3 separate regions of the Homo sapiens genome follow, and regions 2 and 3 are each linked to region 1. The links are contacts of gene promoters, found by promoter capture Hi-C in human tissues and cell types (Jung and others, 2019). All regions are on one chromosome and are shown on one strand. Each heading gives the region's core, a stretch centred on a gene start or on the middle of the fragment in contact. The rest is flanking DNA. Distances are from core to core; before and after follow the strand shown. Region 1 holds the start of UBALD2 (UBA like domain containing 2). Region 2 overlaps GRB2 (growth factor receptor bound protein 2). Region 3 overlaps SAP30BP (SAP30 binding protein).

The links. The method cuts DNA at HindIII sites, captures the fragments that hold promoters and counts their contacts. A contact is called where the count stands out against the background at its distance.
Region 2: a contact is called between a fragment that was not itself captured here and the fragment with the promoter of UBALD2 in region 1, in 1 of the 25 tissues and cell types used here (pancreas).
Region 3: a fragment that was not itself captured here is called in contact with the fragment with the promoter of UBALD2 in region 1 in 1 of the 25 tissues and cell types used here (dorsolateral prefrontal cortex).

What each region holds. Positions count from the first base shown.
Region 1 is chr17:76,264,030-76,266,640 of GRCh38, reverse strand. It overlaps UBALD2 (UBA like domain containing 2), which reads right to left and starts at 1,293. Exons shown (of 3, transcript NM_182565.4): 1 at 1,016-1,293; 2 at 672-734. The coding sequence starts at 1,135. It overlaps LOC105371896 (a long non-coding RNA gene), which reads left to right and starts at 1,560. Exons shown (of 6, transcript XR_007065913.1): 1 at 1,560-2,611. RefSeq lists enhancers at 481-580, 1,841-1,890 and silencers at 751-890, 1,191-1,490. The HindIII fragment of the contact is 4,971 bases long and covers 1-2,611 here.
Region 2 is chr17:75,345,375-75,347,985 of GRCh38, reverse strand. All of the region lies in intron 2 of GRB2 (growth factor receptor bound protein 2), which reads left to right. Among named protein-coding and RNA genes, the nearest start is that of SLC25A19, 57 kb to the right of the region's middle. RefSeq lists enhancers at 535-614, 625-684, 2,295-2,574, 1,949-2,611 and silencers at 825-884, 796-964. The HindIII fragment of the contact is 8,077 bases long and covers 1-2,611 here.
Region 3 is chr17:75,672,676-75,675,286 of GRCh38, reverse strand. All of the region lies in intron 3 of SAP30BP (SAP30 binding protein), which reads right to left. Among named protein-coding and RNA genes, the nearest start is that of SAP30BP, 6.6 kb to the right of the region's middle. The HindIII fragment of the contact is 5,826 bases long and covers 1-2,611 here.

The DNA of each region.
Region 1 (2,611 bases), core at 44-2,543:
CTGGGCTGGTGGAGCTCAACACAGAGATTAAAGACACATTCCTGGCCTTATCTTGGGTCAAAATCTGTGTGTCCTCCTGGCTTGGGGGATGTATGTCCTTCCAACTTCCCAGTCCCCTTGGGCTTCGGAAGGTTGAACAGATCTTTGTGGGTAGAGCCCGGCTTCCTGAGCCAGGGTGGATTCATGCCTTTCCTGTTCCCTGTAGCGCTGGGTGTGTGTGTGTGTGGAGGGGGAGGGGGGAAACCACTCAACAGCACGAGGGGGTCCCCATAAACACAAGCACCCCCATCGCCCTCCCTGGGCCCTTCGCGCGGGCTTCCCAGTGCCCCAGACGTCCGGGCATCACCCTCTCCCCCTCCCCATCCCCTGGCTCTGGGGTCCCCCAGCTCCTGAGCCCCTCGCCAGGCCCCCGGCCCTCTCCCCCTCCCCCCAACTTTGGCGCCGCTTCCCCCCAGGGACCAGTGCCGGGCACCAGTCCCGAGGCCAAGCAGCAGCAGCCCGGGAGGCGGGCCTCAAAGTTGGAGGCGCCAGCGCCGGCCCGGGAGCCGCTCTTTCCTGGAAGACATTTTGGCTCTTTGTTTACATTCGCGGCGCGGCGCTCCCCGGCAACATGGCTGTCACCGCCGCGCTGACAGCGGCCCCGGCCCGCGCCCCTGCCCGCCGCCGCTTACCATCTGGTGGTGGTGGTGGCTGTTGGGAATGTTGGTTTCTTGGAAGAACGTGCTCAGCGCGGTCTGCGGACAAACAGGGCAGTGACACGGCGGGCCAGGCGGAGTCAGGAAACGCAGCGGCTGGGCCCCCCACCGGCTCTCCCCGCCTCCGCGCCCGGCCCGCGGCCCCCGACCCTCGGCTGCCCCACGTGCAGAGGGGAGCCGGTCCCGGCCCCGGTCCCGCGTAAGACCCGCTCGCGGGCGCCGATCGCCTTCCGGGCCGACAACAGGAGCGCTCCCCGCCCCCGCCGCCGCCCGGCGTCCCCGACCCCCGCGGCCCGGCCCCGCGGCGGCCAGGCTCGCACCTCGAACTGCCAGTGGGCCGCCTGCAGCAACTGCTTCGCCTGGTCGGCCGCGCAGCCCGCGGCCAGCACGAACTGGTTGATCATGACCTGGTGCCGCAGCTCGTCCATGTTCACCGACATGGCGCGGCGCGGCGCGGGGCCCGGCGTCTCCGGCCGGACGCAGACGCGGGGCTGCGCGGGCGCGGGAGGCCGGCCGCCCGGGGCTCCGGGGCTCGCGCTCACCGCTGCTGCCGCCGCTCCGCCGCCCGCTCCGCCGCCGCCCGCCCGGCGAATGTTGTGGTTCGACTCCCGCGGCCCGGCCGACACCACAAACAACAGCGCGGGGCGGGGCTGGGCCGGCCCAACGTTCGGGGACTGCCGCTGATTGGCCGGGGCGCCGCTCCGCCAGCGCCCGGCTCCCGTAAGGACGTTCGATTCGAATCCTGCGGCCTGTGGGGCCCTCACTGTTTCTCTTTTCGCCCGGCCGCGCCCATTGGCGGAGCTCGGCGCCGTGGGGCTCCCCAGCATTGGCCGGCCGCTGTGTTTTGGCTCATCCGGCCTCGTGGTTGGTCACGGCCGGGCGTTCGGGGCGGGGCCGCGCACTCTGATTGGCCTCCGGTGGTCCTGTTTGAACTCAACTTGAAAACCCGGAGTGCCTGCTGATTGGCCGAGGGCCCTCTGTTTGCTGTTGTAGGCTTGGGGGTGGTGCGGCCAAGTTCATTCATTACTTCATTGAAACAGAACATGCTCAGCTGGAAAAGCAAGACAGAGTGGCTTTGACTCATTTCCTCTGAAAGATGTGGTCATCTCGAGAAACAGAATGATCAAAATAGAAAACAGAGCCTTTGCAGCTGCTCAAGTCTCAAAAGCATGTAATTTTTAAAAATAACTTTCAAGCAGTCCAATTTAAAAAAATCTTTTATTGAAATATAACGTACATTAGGAAAGTGCGATGTCGCAGGTACAGCTTCCAGACTTTTCACCAAGTGAACACCCAGATCAATTAACAGAACGTTACTTGCACCCTAGGAACCCGCGTCCTGCCCTCTTCTAATCACTACCCACCGCAAGGATCGAGCAGTATTTTCTCAGTTTTTAGACCAAAGACTTTGCTCTCTGAAGATGGAAGCCAAGATTTATGTACAATAAATACGATATGCAAGGAAATATGCAAGGAAAAAAGTGAGACTTTCTCAGTGGCCAAAATGCCAAGTCAAGAATTTTTTCTTGTTAAATCGGTTGACCTAACTGAAGCTTTAATTTTCTTTTTTTTTTTTTCTCTTGCTTGTCACGAAAGCTAAGATGAAGCTTTAATTTCTACCATCTTTTAAAAAAACAACGGGTGGCAGTAGGGGTGGAGTCTGGGGTTGGGATGGCTTACACCTATAATCCCAGCACTTTGGGAGGCCGAGACAGGAGGATAACTTGAGGCCGGGAGTTCAACACCAGCTTGGGCAACATAGCACAGACTCCATCTCTACCAAATAAAAACAAACAATAACAAACAGTGAGTGTTTCTACAGAGATACTGTTTCTCAGTGGTAGCCCTTTAAAGTCCAAAATTTGGTGGTGGTGGTTGTTAGATAGGGCTAGAGTGACATGATCATGGCTCACTGT
Region 2 (2,611 bases), core at 79-2,578, 920 kb after region 1:
TAGAATTTGGATACTTTCTGCCCCATAACAAATGTCACTTTATATAAAGGAGCATGTCCTTAATGCATTCCAAAAGACATATACAACTGATTTTAGGCTAATTTCAGTCTGAGTCCTGGTAGAGAACACCTGACACACTTAAATTGAGAGGATTTTAATAATGAGACTATTTGCAAGGTGTTGACTCCAGCTGGGGACCTCCACACTCAGCCCACTCAGGCTAAGTCTTGGTTGCGCACCAGCTCAGCTCATGGCTGGGCTGGGTATGCCCCAGCTCACCTGTGTTATGGCTTGTTCCCAGGTTCAGCAGTTCCCAAGGTCTTGTCCTGTGTCTGAGAAGAATGAGGTTACACTGGCAATTTAAGGGTGAGGAGGGTGGAGAAGAATTTTATTGAGCGGTGAACAGCTTTCAGGAGCGGAGGAGGTAGTGGTTCCCCACCCCTGAAGTCTGGTGGTTTCTCTCCCAGTGTGGCTGGGTGGGGGCTTTTATGGGCTCAGAACAGGGGCATGCATGCTGAATGGTTTGTGGGCATGCAAAGAAAGGCTAAAGCAAAGGCACCACTCAAAGATGGGCATGGCAGTGTAGAAAATCAATTCGGAAAGGGTAGGTAGATGTAAAATAGGTGAAGAGTGGGGATCAATCAGAGGAAAGCCTACCAAATGGGAAGATGGGTTCTCAGTCCGGTCCATGGATTTGACCTGTAGTGTGGCTTTCAGGCTTTCAGTTGTCTTTGGCTTAGAGGTGGGGTTTCACTGGAGACCCGCCCCTGTGAGGCATTTGTCTGCCTCCTGCCGCTATCAGTGTGGGCGAAGTTTCTCTAGAAACCACAGGGATAATGCAGTGTCCACAGCTGGTAATCAGGTTACCACCATGAGGCCTACGACAGGGAGAAGGAAGGGGGAGGAGTTGCCCAAACCTGGAGAAGGAAAGGACTTACTTTCAATTGAGAGTCCAAGACTGTCCACAGACACTCTCAGGGTGGGAGCTGGGAGAATGAATGCCCTGACCTGACCCTCCCTTCGTCTGACCTTCTGCAGGCCTCCCCATTGATTAATAGCACTGGGAGCCAGAGAGTGAGGGAGCCTGTTGATGTGGTTCTTACAGAGCCAAAAAGTCAGAGCAGGCTGGGCACAGTGGCTCATGCCTGTAATCCCAGCACTTTGAGAGGCCAAGGTGACTTGAGGTTAGGAGTTTGAGACTAGCCTGGCCAACATGATGAAACCCCGTCTCTACTAAAAAATACAAAAATTAGCCAGGTGTGGTAATCCCAGCTGCTTGGGAGGCTGAGGCAGGGGAATCATTTGAACCCGGGCGGTGGAGGTTGCAGTGAGCCAGGATTGCACCACTGCACTCCTGCCTGTGCAAAGAGTGTGACTCTGTCTCAAAAAAAAAAAAAAAAAAAAAAAGGCAAGAAAAGCAAGGTGTAACTGGATCTGGAGAGACAGATGGAGGATACCAGCATAAGATTGATACCTGTCTTTGTTTTTTGGAGACGGAGTCTCACTCTATTGCCCAGGCTGGAATGCAGTGGCGCAGTCTCGGCTCCCTGCAACTTCTGCCTCCCAGGTTCAAGCGATTCTCCTGCCTCAGCCCCCCGAGTAGCTGGGACTACAGGCGCCCGCCACCGTGCCCAGATAATTTTTTGTATTTTGTAGTAGAGACAGGGTTTTACCATGTTGGCCAGGCGGGTCTTGAACTCCTGACCTCAAGTGATCCGCCTGCCTTGGCATCCCAAAGTGCTGGGATTACAGGCATCAGCCACTGTGCCCAGCCAATATAGCAGTTTTTCTAAAGCAGTTTTCAGAAAAAAAAAAAAAAAAAATCAGTGGCCGAGAGGAAGACCACTGAGCAGCATCTCATCACCAAGTCCTTTTGATTCTACCTCCAGAAATACCTCGACTCTCTCCTCTCTACCGCACTGCCCCACCCACCTGCACCTCCTTGCAGTTCATCTCACAGTCAGCCAGAGGAGCTTTTGAAAAATGCAAACCTGAATGTCACTCTCAGCGACTTCTGATGATTGTAACATATAAGCTTGAGCTTCTTAATTTGCATACTGTGGTCTTCTGCCAGACCACCCACAGGAGAGCCTTTGATCTCCCTTCAAATGTCACTGGCTTGGGGAGGCTTTCTCAGGCAGCCCCCACCCCGAGACTAGTTTAGGTCCCTGTGTTTTCTGCTCCCTGACCCTGTCCACTAGCTTGAATCCACATTTGCAGTTTGTATTGTCATTACCTGTTGAACTCTCTGCATTCGCCTCCACCCTGGGGGTGGGGGTGGGGGTGGGGGTAGGGACTTGCCACTCTACCCCAGTTCCTCTTCCTCTGTCATGTGATTATAACAAGCCTTTCCCGATTTGGAACTAGATTAACTGCTTCAGAAGTAGAAAATGCATTTGGAACTAGCTTTTTGAGTTGGAAATTAACGGTGTCCTGGTGGGAGGACCCCAGCCTTGAGTTTTTCAGTCCTGTATCCTTATGCACACGTTGGTGAATAGTTCTGTGACCAACATTGCTTTTTCTTCTTTCAATAACATCCTCTGAGGTGGCTCTTGGGTCACAGAACGACTGAAAATCGATCAGTCCTTTCATTGACCCCTTGAATCATAGT
Region 3 (2,611 bases), core at 69-2,568, 590 kb after region 1:
CCCAGCTACTCGGGAGGCTGAGGCAGGAGAATGGCTTGAATGCGGGAGGCAGAGGTTGCAGTGAGCTGAGATTGCGCCATTGCACTCCAGCTTGGGCAACAAGAGCGAAACTCCTACTCAAAAACAAAACAAAACAAAAAAACAACAAAAAACCAAAGTAGAAAGGAGAATGCCACCTAGTGGAGATGACAATTATGACAGTAATCTAATTGTTAAACAACACTTCTAACAAAGATCCACACTTGTAACATATTCTATTGTTAGAAACTTCCTATGTTCATGTGCACTGGGCCTGGTGGCTCACAGCTCTAATCCCAGCCCTTTGGGAAGCCAATGTGGGCAGATTACTTGAGCCCAGGAGTTCAAGACCAGCCGGGGCAATATGGCAAAACCTTTCCTCTACAAAAAAATTAAAAAAAATTGCTAGGTGTGATGCACACACCTGTAGTCCCAGCTGTTTGGGAGGCTGAGGTGGGAGGATTAATTGAGCCAGGGAGGTTGTGGCTGCAGTAAGTTATGATGGCACCACTGCACTCCAGGCGACAGAGGAGACTCCACCTCAAAAAAAAAAAAAAAAAAAAAAAAAAAACAAAAAACAAACAAAAAAACTTCATATGCTTAAAGCAGAATGTCCAAAATTAAGGGTTTTGAATATAAAAAATATTGTTACACATCAATTTAAAAAAATGTGGGCTGGGCACAGTGGCTTATGCCTGTAATCCCAGCACTTTGGGAGGCAGAGGCGGGCCTATCACTTGAGGCCATGAGTTCAAGACCAGCCTGGCCAACATGGTGAAACCCTGTCTCTATTAAAAATACAAAAAATTAGCTGGGCATGGTGGCTCACACCTGTAATCCCAGCTACTCGGGAAACTGAGACAGGAGAATCGCTTGAACCCAGGAGGCGGAGGTTGCACTGAGCCGAGATCACAGCACTGCACTCCAGCCTGAGCGACAGAGCAAGACTCTGTCTCAAAAAAATAAATAAAATAAATAAATAAAAATAAAATGTAAATGTGCCAGAAAGTTCTGGATTTGAGGTACATGTTGCTATGTGGAAGAGAGTCTGAGGCCAGCTCAAGCAGAAGGATGACAGGGCCAGGACTAAGATAAGAGTATCACAGAAGACTCATGCTGGGGATCATTTGTAGTCCTTGGAGATGCCACGAGGACTCCTAAAGGCCTGGCAGCCACTGGGGATTGCAGAACATTGAAGCTGGCAAGCTTTATCTAAACCCTTCTCCATCACCCTCCAAAAGAACTATATCAAGTGACTTTGAGGGTTGGATTTTGTGTTCTGATTTCTGAGGGCTCCTCAAGAGGAACAGAAATTATTCCATGAAAACTTTTCATTCCACAGTAAAACTTGAAATGCACATGAGTGAATGAGGAACAGCGAAGCACATCAGTCAAGGAGCAGGCAGGAATGACGAGGCTGTCAGCCGTGATGTAGGGCTGAGAAGGGGAGCCTGAGCACAAAAGGCATTTCCACAATCTTCCCAGCTTCACCTTTTTTGGGTCCCTCCCACCCCGCTCTTTAGTGACTGCTACTGGACAGCAGTAAAGTCTGTTTTGTTTTTCATGTGACCCCCACCCTGACTCACAAAGCCCTGTCATCTCCCAAGGATTTGTTGCCTGGATTACAGTATTTTAGAAGGGGTGACCGTTAAGTGTTATGTACCCTCCTCTCCAGCCAACTTCCCCAGGAAGCCTTCCAGCCCTAAGAAAAGGCTGCAACTGTACCCAGAAAGACTCTAGGACCCAGATCCTCCCTTCCCTCCACAACTGAAACCCAAACACTTAACGGCTCCCTGGGCTTGTTTTACGTGCAGGCTCCAAGTCCCACATACCCTAAATACTAGGCAGAGAAGATTATCACTACTGAGTGTTTTGTTCTGCAAGCCCGAGGAGAGCTGTGACTGACTTTGAACTATGGGGCCATGGGTCTGCCCATACCATCTTGCCAGTTCTCAGGCAGGGCGAGTTCTCAGGCCTGGGTTCCAGGTTTTTCACTCAGCATAGAAAGCAGGTTGCATTTACAGTTTTCAGGGGTTCTTTTTTTTCCCTCCTGCATGCTGGCGCCAAAACTTTCTTTCCTGGTAAAACACACTCTTATCTTTCTCACTCACAACGTCTCAAGATTTTAGTGGCTACATACAGTTCTATCCAATCACAGAATCAGCTCAAATATGGAACAGCTCACACTATATTTTCAAGAATATTACTGTTTTAGATTTTAATTGGGCATAAATTTCCTAAATTTTACTAGGTCATCTTGAAAGTTACAGCTGGTTTCCAAGCAGTTTTTTTTTGTTTTTTTTTTTGAGACAGATTCTCATTCTGTTGCCCAGGTTGGAGTGCATTGGCAGATCATGGCTCACTGCAACCTCTGCCTCCCAGGTTCAAGTAATTCCCCTGCCTCAGCTTCCCCAGTAGCTGGGATCACAGGTGTGCACCACCCACCAGTCTCACCAGTTAATTTTTGTATTTTTAGTAGAGACGGGGTTTCACCATACTGGCCAGGCTGGTCTTGAACTCCTGACCTCAAGTGATCCTCCCGCCTCAGCCTCCCAAAGTGCTGGGATTACAGGCGTGAGCTACTGCGGCTGGC